3 separate regions of the Homo sapiens genome follow, and regions 1 and 3 are each linked to region 2. Evidence: promoter capture Hi-C in human tissues and cell types (Jung and others, 2019). All regions are on one chromosome and are shown on one strand. Each heading gives the region's core, a stretch centred on a gene start or on the middle of the fragment in contact. The rest is flanking DNA. Distances are from core to core; before and after follow the strand shown.

Region 1 (2,700 bases), core at 3-2,502, 37 kb before region 2:
GCCTTATCTCAGACTAGACTTCGGACTTTCGAGATAATGCTGGAATAAGTTAAAACTTCGGGAGACTCTTGAAAAGGAATTATTTTATTTTGCAACATGAGAAGGACATGAGATTTGGAGGGGCCCGGGGTGCAATAATATGGTTTGGACCTGTGTTCCCACCAAATCTCATGTTGAATTGTAATTCTCAGTGTTGGAGGTGGGGCCTGGTGGAAGATGATTGATCATGGGGTTAGAGTTCTCATGAATAGGCTAGCACCATCCCCTATTCTTGTGACAGTGAGTGAGTTATTGTGAGATCTGGTTGTTTAAAAGTGTGTAGCATGTCCCCTGCCTCCCCCACCCCGACCCCACACCACCCCTGCTCCTTCTCTGGCCATGTGAAGTGCTGCTCCCTCTTTGCCTTCTGCCATGATTGTAAGTTTCCTGAGGCCTCCCCAGAAGCAGAAGCTTCTATGTTTGCTGTACAGCCTGCAGAACCCAAAGCCAATTAAACCTCTTTTCTTTATAAATTACCCAGTCTCAGTATTTCTTTATAACAGTCTGAGAATGGACTATTACAGACATTTTCTTATAATTTGCATTGTGGCTCTTTTGCTTGGGAATGTTTCAACCCAGTGGGAGAACATGCAAATCATAACCCACATGAATTTATATCCCTGAACAGGAGATAATTGAACGAAATGTGTTTGTCAAATATCAAAGGGTCCAGCAGAAAGGGAGAAGTGCCTCTGTGACTCACAGAGGGGCTAGATTATGTTTATTTAGCATAAACCTTATAAGCTATTGTGGGTGAAGGTTTTCAGTAGTATTGTTTTTCTCATGCAATCATTTTTTTTTTTTAGGTCTCCAGTGTATAAGCTCATAGATGTGTTGTAACATAGGAAATTGAAATCCCATAGGCAAATGGGTTTGTCATTGAGTCCATACCATAGGTTACAAGTGGTAGCGGGGAATATTTGCCTTTTGTTAACCATATTTCTTTTCTCTCTCTCTTTTCTTTCATTCTTTTCTTTCTTTTTTTGAGACATGGTATCATTCTGTCTACCAGGTTGGAGTACAGTGCCACAATCATGGCTCACTGCAGCCACAACCTCCTGGGCCCAATCAATCCTCCTGCCTCAGCCTCCTGAGTAACTGGGGACTGCAGGTACCTGCCAACATGCCTGGCTAATTTTTGTATTTTTTTTTTTGTAGAGACAGGGTTTCACCATGTTGCCTAGACTGGTCTCAAATTCCTCGGCTCAGGTGATCCTCCTGCCTCAGCCTCCCAAAGTGTTGGGATTACAGGCATGAGCCACCACACTCAGCCTGCTAATCATATTTCTTTTTCCTTTTCTGAGGCTCTTTCTTGAGCATCCTGACATTCCCTTTTAATTGGGTTCCATTTAAGCATGGCTATTTCTATGATTTCATCTCATACTGGTAATAGGGCAGCTGTCTTTGCTGCTACATCAGTAAAATGGCTTCCCTTACTTTCCAGAGACTCAGTTTTTGAATATCTAGGGATCTTATAGCCAAATTTATTTTTGTAATTGAATGGCTTCTATAAGTTTAGAGACGTGAGAGCCATGTTTTGTAGGGTGTCTAGAGGAAGTCAGATGACCTTGTTATTTCTGTAACATTCCGAAGTCATGAGCTACACCAAAAGCATAGTGACTGTCAGTGTAAATTTTAGCTGTCTGATCTTTGGCCAACTGGCAAGTTCTAGTGAGCTCTATTAATTCAGCCAGCTGAGGTGATATCACCATAAGGAAAGGCTTACTTTTTGTAATGTCCACAAAAGACACAACAGCATAGCCTGCTCAATATTTTCCAATATTTATCCTTTAGATATGATCTATCACCAAATAACATCAGCATTCTCTAGTGTTTTTTTGTTTTGTTTTGTTTTGTTTTGTTTTAACAAATCCTGTCTGGCCATCAAGAGCTATACTGTTAGTGATATATAATCACAGGGCATCTCATCAGTCACTTTAGGCAGCAGGGAAGTGAGCTTAAGAGCATTATAATGAAGATTGTATTATGTGAGGGAGAGAGTAAAAGTATCTCATAAGACACCAGCTGGCCAGGCACGGTTGCTTACTCCTATAATCCCAGCATTTTGGGAGGCTGAGGCGGGAGGATGGCTTGAGCCCAGGAGTTTGAGACCAGCCTGGGCAACATAGCGAGACCTCCAACTCTACAGAAAAATTAAAAAATTAGCTGGTTGTGTGGTGGCATGTCTGTTATCCCAGCTACTCAGGGGTGCTGAGATGGGAGGATTGCTTGAGCCCAGGAGATTGAGGCTGCAGTGAGCTATGATCATGCCACTGCACTCTATCCTGGTGACAGTGTGGGACCCTGTCTCAACAAAACAAAAGAAGCCAACCTGCTAATAGAAAAAGGTTAAGTGCAATGCAAATTTAGAAGAGCTTCAGCAGAAGGAGGTACATACGTAGTGGAACTTTCATTACAATTTCCTGAGTAGCCTTGAGAAGTGCAACTATGGCTGAGATGGCTCTTAAACAAGGGGGTAATCCACATGCTACAGAAGCTAGTTGTTGGCAGTAATAGCTGATACGTCTATGTTGTCCCCGTGTTTTGGGGCCAGAATGCGTAAGGTGATTCCATGACTTCCATGGACAAAGTGGAAAAATGGTTACTAGTAATTTGGATGTCTTCAATCAGGGGCTTTTATAAAACTATCCTTTAACTCCT
Region 2 (2,700 bases), core at 179-2,678:
GGTTTCAAAGGCTGACCACCTGTGACGGCCTGAAAATCAGCTGCTGTGATTGTCTGAGACTCAGGTACTTATAACAGTAGGTTACAGTCTGTTTACACATCTACTTAGGTTACAGTTCACTAAGTACAGAGAAACTTTTAGGCTAAACTTAAAATATTCAAGGAGGCAGCGTTAGGCTATACTTAACACCTACTTAGCACAGGTAACTAGAAGTGGCTAAAACAGAAACGAATTCTTGAATAACTGAGTGAATGCCACACTTAGAAAAGGTTGTTTTATGCAGCTAATTATAGAATCACGGACAAGAACTGAAAGAGTTGCTGCCTGAACTTTCCACTCGAGGTCTGTGTTAGAATTTAGGAAACGCCACCCTGATAAATGACTGCAAAAGACAAGAATGCACCATCCCCAAACATGCCACCCTGGCATATTGATGACTTTGAGCTATAAGTAACAGAACCAAACAACACAGGATAACTTATTCAGCTACCCCTCAACTGCCTAAAATAAAGTATGACTGCTTTTTTTCCTTTTGTTCTTATTATTTTTCGACTCGCCTGTTGTAAACAGAAATTTACACCTATAAAGGAAATTTTCTGTAGTAAATGTATCTGTATCAGGAAGACAGCTGCTTGGGGGCAACTTTTATCGCCTGAGCGCCTCATCGGGATAACAAAGCAACCTTTATTCACCATACATTTCCCCCATCACCCTTCCAAAAGGTCTCCACCACGCCCCAAAAGGCCCACGCCCCTATTCCCTGGCCCTTCTTTGTCTCCCACTTTTGTGGCCCTCTAGTGCACGGGTACATAATTAAAAGTTTTTCTCCTGTTAATCTGTCTTATGACAATTTAATTTGTGGCCCAGCTTAAGAACTTAGAAGGGTAGAGGGAAACCATATTTCCTTCCCCTACATTTGAATCTTCTTTACACCACACTCTCCCGGGTCATTTGGACTCTCCTGGAACCCCCTGGAGCTAGGGAAGCGCAGGGCCTCCCAAGTCAGATTCTGCTTGGTGCCGAGCGGCAGTTGGCTCCCTGAACGCCCCGCCAGGAGGATGGACTTCAAGTCCTTGACCGCGGCGCCCGACATCGGTCGCCCGCACCAGGCTCCTGCCGGGCCCAGCCCCCCTGCCTGCTCGCGGGGGCTCGGAGGACCCGGCCTAGCGCCCACCGCGGCGTCCCGCGCCCCGGGCCCCTGGCTTCAGAAGACTGGCCGCGCGCGGACGGCAGCTCGGGACTCACAAGGACTCCAGGTGCTTGAGCTGCTGCAGCTGCTGCGCGTCGTGTCGCCGCCGCTTCTGCTCCCGACGTCGCTGCAGCTCCTGCTCCGGCGGCTCACGCGGCCGCCGCGCGCCCGCAGCCCCCACGTCCTCGCGCCCAGGCCGGGACGACATGTCAGCCCCCGCAGCGCCGCTCGGGCAACCCCCGCGGCGCGGCTCCGGCGGCGGCGGCGGCGGCGGCGGCAGCCAAGAGAGCACTTCCTCCGCGCGGCGGTCGCGGGGCTTCGCAGCGCCCCCTCCCGCCGCCGCCCCGCAACTCACCCCGGCGGCCCCGAAGTCTCAGCCTCGGCCACCCGATCCCCGCCTCCCCGCGTCGGGCCCCAAGTCAGGGGCTCCGGGTCTCGGGCCCAGCCGCCAGGCGGGCTGCTGCGGGTGGGTGGGGAGCGCCGCCTAGCTGGAGCCGAAGCGGGGCGAGGCGCTAGTTGGGAGCCTGGAGGTTCCCGCCCGGCCACACCCACCTCAGGTATACTAGCAACAGTCACATAGGGATGAGCAGATGAAATGTATTCATAAAAAAATGTTCAAATTAGCCAGGCGTGGTGGCGGGCGCCAGTAGTCCCAGCTACTTGGGTGGCTGAGGCAGGAGAATTGCTTGAACCCAGGAGGCAGAGGTTGCAGTGAGCCGAGATGGTGCCCCTGCACTCCAGTCTGGGCGAAAAAGCGAGATTGTCTCTCAGAAAAAAAAAAAAAAAAGTGTTCAAAAAGTGAAATGTATAAACATATAATTATGTTCGGTAATAGTGTGCACCCAGCTTTATAACTGCGGTCATCTGATATACCATGAGAGACAACCTAACTCTTTTGACAGGATGGGTCACCATGACGTCACCACTGTGCCAGTCACCCGAGGAGCCAAGATCCTGAGAAATTTCATCTTTCACAAATGCAGATGTACAGAAAAGACACTTATTTATTTATCGAGGAAATTTCTACATTTTTGCATATATGTAGAATGCTTACACAGTCACCATTGTAATAATGAGCTTTGATTGAGTCATATTTGCAAAAAATGCATAAAACAAATTTGAACTCTCTAAAAGTCTTTATATAGTTGATGCCTCCAGTATTAGAAATGATGTTAAGATGTAATACATAGCATAGTGAATTGTAAAACATAATGCTGACAATTTACAATAATGAAAAAGCTAAAAGAGAAAATAGAAAAACGAAAGCAAACTAAAAAGAAAATTCAACATAGAAAAAGTGTATTGCAGGGATAGATTATGGGCAATTGCATGGCGATTGTCCACATGAACTGCCCAACTTTTATGATGATTAACATATTTTGAAGTCTTGCATCATGATGAATAGCTTTTTTTTTTTTCTTTTAGGACATGGCTCTCCTCGATGATACAGTCTCATTAATTTTCTATGTGATACTGCTCTTTCCAAAATTCTTTTTAACTTTTTAAAGTTT
Region 3 (2,700 bases), core at 131-2,630, 62 kb before region 2:
TATGTTGCCCAGGCTGTAGTACGGTGGCTATTCACAGGCATGACCCCACCACTGATCAGCTTAGGAGTATGGACCTGCTCTGTTTTCAACCAGGGCTAGTTCACCCCTCCTCAGGCAACCTGGTGGTCCCCTGCTCCCAGGAGGTTCCTATATTGATGCCGAACTTAGTGCAGACACTTGATTGGCACAGCACACTAAAGCTTGGAACTCCTGGGCTCAAGTGATCCTTTCACCTCAACCTCCCAGGGACCATAGGCGCTAGGCCAGTACGCCCAGCCTCATGTTTTTTATCATTTAAGATCACTGCAAAAACTTATCCTAGTAGATGACTGTGAGTGAGACTGATTGCAGCCTTATGAATTTACAGACATATGTATATGCAAACTGATGAGAACCTATGGTTCCCATCTCAATGTATTTCTTAAACTTTGCAAAAATCTAGGCCTGGGGCTGAGGCTCACATCTGTAATCCCAGCACCTTGGGAAGTCGAGGTAGAAGGATTGCTTGAGCCCAGGAGTTTGAGACCAGCCTGGGCAACATACAGAGGCCCTGTATCCACAAAAAATGTTAAAAAATTAGCCAAGTGTGGTGGCATGTGCCTGTAGCCCCAACTTCTCAGGAGGCTGAGGTGGAAGGATCACTTCAGCCCAGAAGGTAGAGGCTGCAGTACAATCATGCCACTGCACTTCAGCCTGTGTGACAGGGGGAGGTTGTCTCAAAAAAAAAAAAATTGCAAAAATCTAGATCAAGTAATTTAATTTTCAAAAACTCAAGTAAAATTGTTGAACATGAACTATATCTTTTTTACTTTCTTACTTAAAAAGCATTAAATTCTGTTTTAAACTTTTAGCAGAAATGACACTGATGTTACAATAGGTAGGTCAGGTTCAAGAAAATAGGATGTAAGACAATAACATAAATGAAGGGAGTCTTTCCTGGCTCTCCTTTCAAATGCCATATGTTTGAATATTTCAAGATGCTTAGCACTGACTTTTTTTTTTTTTTTGGAGATGGAGTCTCATTCTGTCGCCCAAGCTGGAGTGCAGTGGTGCAATCTTGGCTCACTGCAGCCTCTGCTTCCCGGGTTCAAACAATTCTACTGCCTTAGCCTCTGGAGTAGTGGGGACCACAGGTGCACCCTGCCACACCTGGCTTCTTTTTTTTTTTTTTTTAAGAGTCGGGTCTTGCTATGGGGTGTAGTAGGTTGGTCTTGAACTCCTATGCTCAAGCGATCCTCTCACCTCAGCCTCCCGAATCTTTTTATTTTATTATAGCTGAATCTCTATGATTGAAATGAAACAAGATGAAAAGCTTTCTGTTTTAATTTTGGACTCCTTCTACATCTCACAATTGGTATTCCTGCCCTTAAAAAGAAACAAACAATATTGTTTAAGATCACTATTTTGTTATAAGTTAAATTAAAAATGGCAAAAAGGTAATGCAATTTAAGCTTTTATTATTGGTGCACTATATCGAGTACATCTAAATGAGGAGTAAAAAGTTAAGATTTAACTTACTACCCTTCCTTCTTACTGTGCCACATAAACACATTAAGTAAATACTAAGGCAAGAGAACAATAAACAAAATTATTTTGAGATTTAAATTCATGAATTAATAGTAACTAGTAGCAAAATTATCTGAAATCATATGAAGGACTGGCGGGTGATAACTTGAGTTGAATACTATGCATCAATTAAATACATTTTTAAATAGTTATGATATCCATGTGATATAATAGCATAAATACAATATAGTTATGAAAATATAAGTATAAATTTATAAACAAATTAAGTAAACAATCTTGATTTAAAACATTACAGAATGACTTCATTTGGGTAAAAAAATTATACTTAATTATATACATAGAAAAATAAAGGAAGTACACTTACTAAAACGGGGGTCTTTTAAGGTGGTGAAAATTATAGATTTCTTTTGCTCATCTAGATTCACTTTTATATCAACGTGTATTGTATGATATAAAAAGAATCAATACAAAATAAAATAGATAAATTATTTATTTATTTGAGACAGGGTCTCACTCTATCACCCAGACTGGAGTGCAGTGGTATGATCTTAGCTTACCAGCCTCAACCTTCTGGGGTCAAGTGATCCTCCTGCCTCAGCCTCTCAAGTAGCTGGAACTATAGGCATGTGCCACCACACCTGGCTTTTATATGTGTATGTGTGTGTGTGTGTGTGTGTCTTTTGATTTCTTACTTAAATAGGATTAAATTCTGTATTTAAATAAACTTTTAGAGGAAATGACATTTATGTTGCAATAGGTAGGTCAGGTCCAAGAAAACAGGATGTAAGATAATACCATAAATGGCGTCTTCATTTATAGTATTGATACATTTGATTTGTGTGTGTGTGTGTGTGTGTGGTTTTTTTTTGATGTATTTGATTTTTAGTAGAGATGAGGTCCCCTTATTTTGCCCAGGCTGGTCTCTAACTCTTAGGCTCAGGTGATCCTCCTGCCTCCACCTCCCAACGTGCTGGGATTACAGGTATGAGCCACCTTGCCCGGCCTGGTAAATAGTTTAAAATAAACAAATTCCTTATAAAAAGCTGGATCATAATTCAGGTACTCATGAGTCCAATTATTAAGACTTCTTTAAAGTTAGGTCACATGACTGGAAACCCATGAATGTGGACCTCATAAGTTAGTTTTCTGAAATCTATAGTGAATCACATGATC

What was found. Contacts are between HindIII fragments. The study calls those that stand out against the background at their distance.
Region 1: a contact is called between a fragment that was not itself captured here and the fragment with the promoter of RP9 in region 2, in 1 of the 25 tissues and cell types used here (lymphoblastoid cells).
Region 3: a fragment that was not itself captured here is called in contact with the fragment with the promoter of RP9 in region 2 in 1 of the 25 tissues and cell types used here (hippocampus).

What each region holds. Positions count from the first base shown.
Region 1 is chr7:33,070,988-33,073,687 of GRCh38, forward strand. All of the region lies in intron 2 of LOC124901610 (a long non-coding RNA gene), which reads left to right. Among named protein-coding and RNA genes, the nearest start is that of NT5C3A, 9.6 kb to the left of the region's middle. The HindIII fragment of the contact is 6,422 bases long and covers 1-2,700 here.
Region 2 is chr7:33,107,976-33,110,675 of GRCh38, forward strand. RP9 (RP9 pre-mRNA splicing factor) reads right to left here and starts at 1,429. Exons shown (of 6, transcript NM_203288.2): 1 at 1,246-1,429. The coding sequence starts at 1,397. RefSeq lists silencers at 1,085-1,314, 1,325-1,804. The HindIII fragment of the contact is 15,438 bases long and covers 1-2,700 here.
Region 3 is chr7:33,045,814-33,048,513 of GRCh38, forward strand. The region is part of intron 1 of NT5C3A (5'-nucleotidase, cytosolic IIIA); the gene reads right to left. It also overlaps the pseudogene RN7SL505P. Among named protein-coding and RNA genes, the nearest start is that of NT5C3A, 16 kb to the right of the region's middle. The HindIII fragment of the contact is 3,512 bases long and covers 1-2,700 here.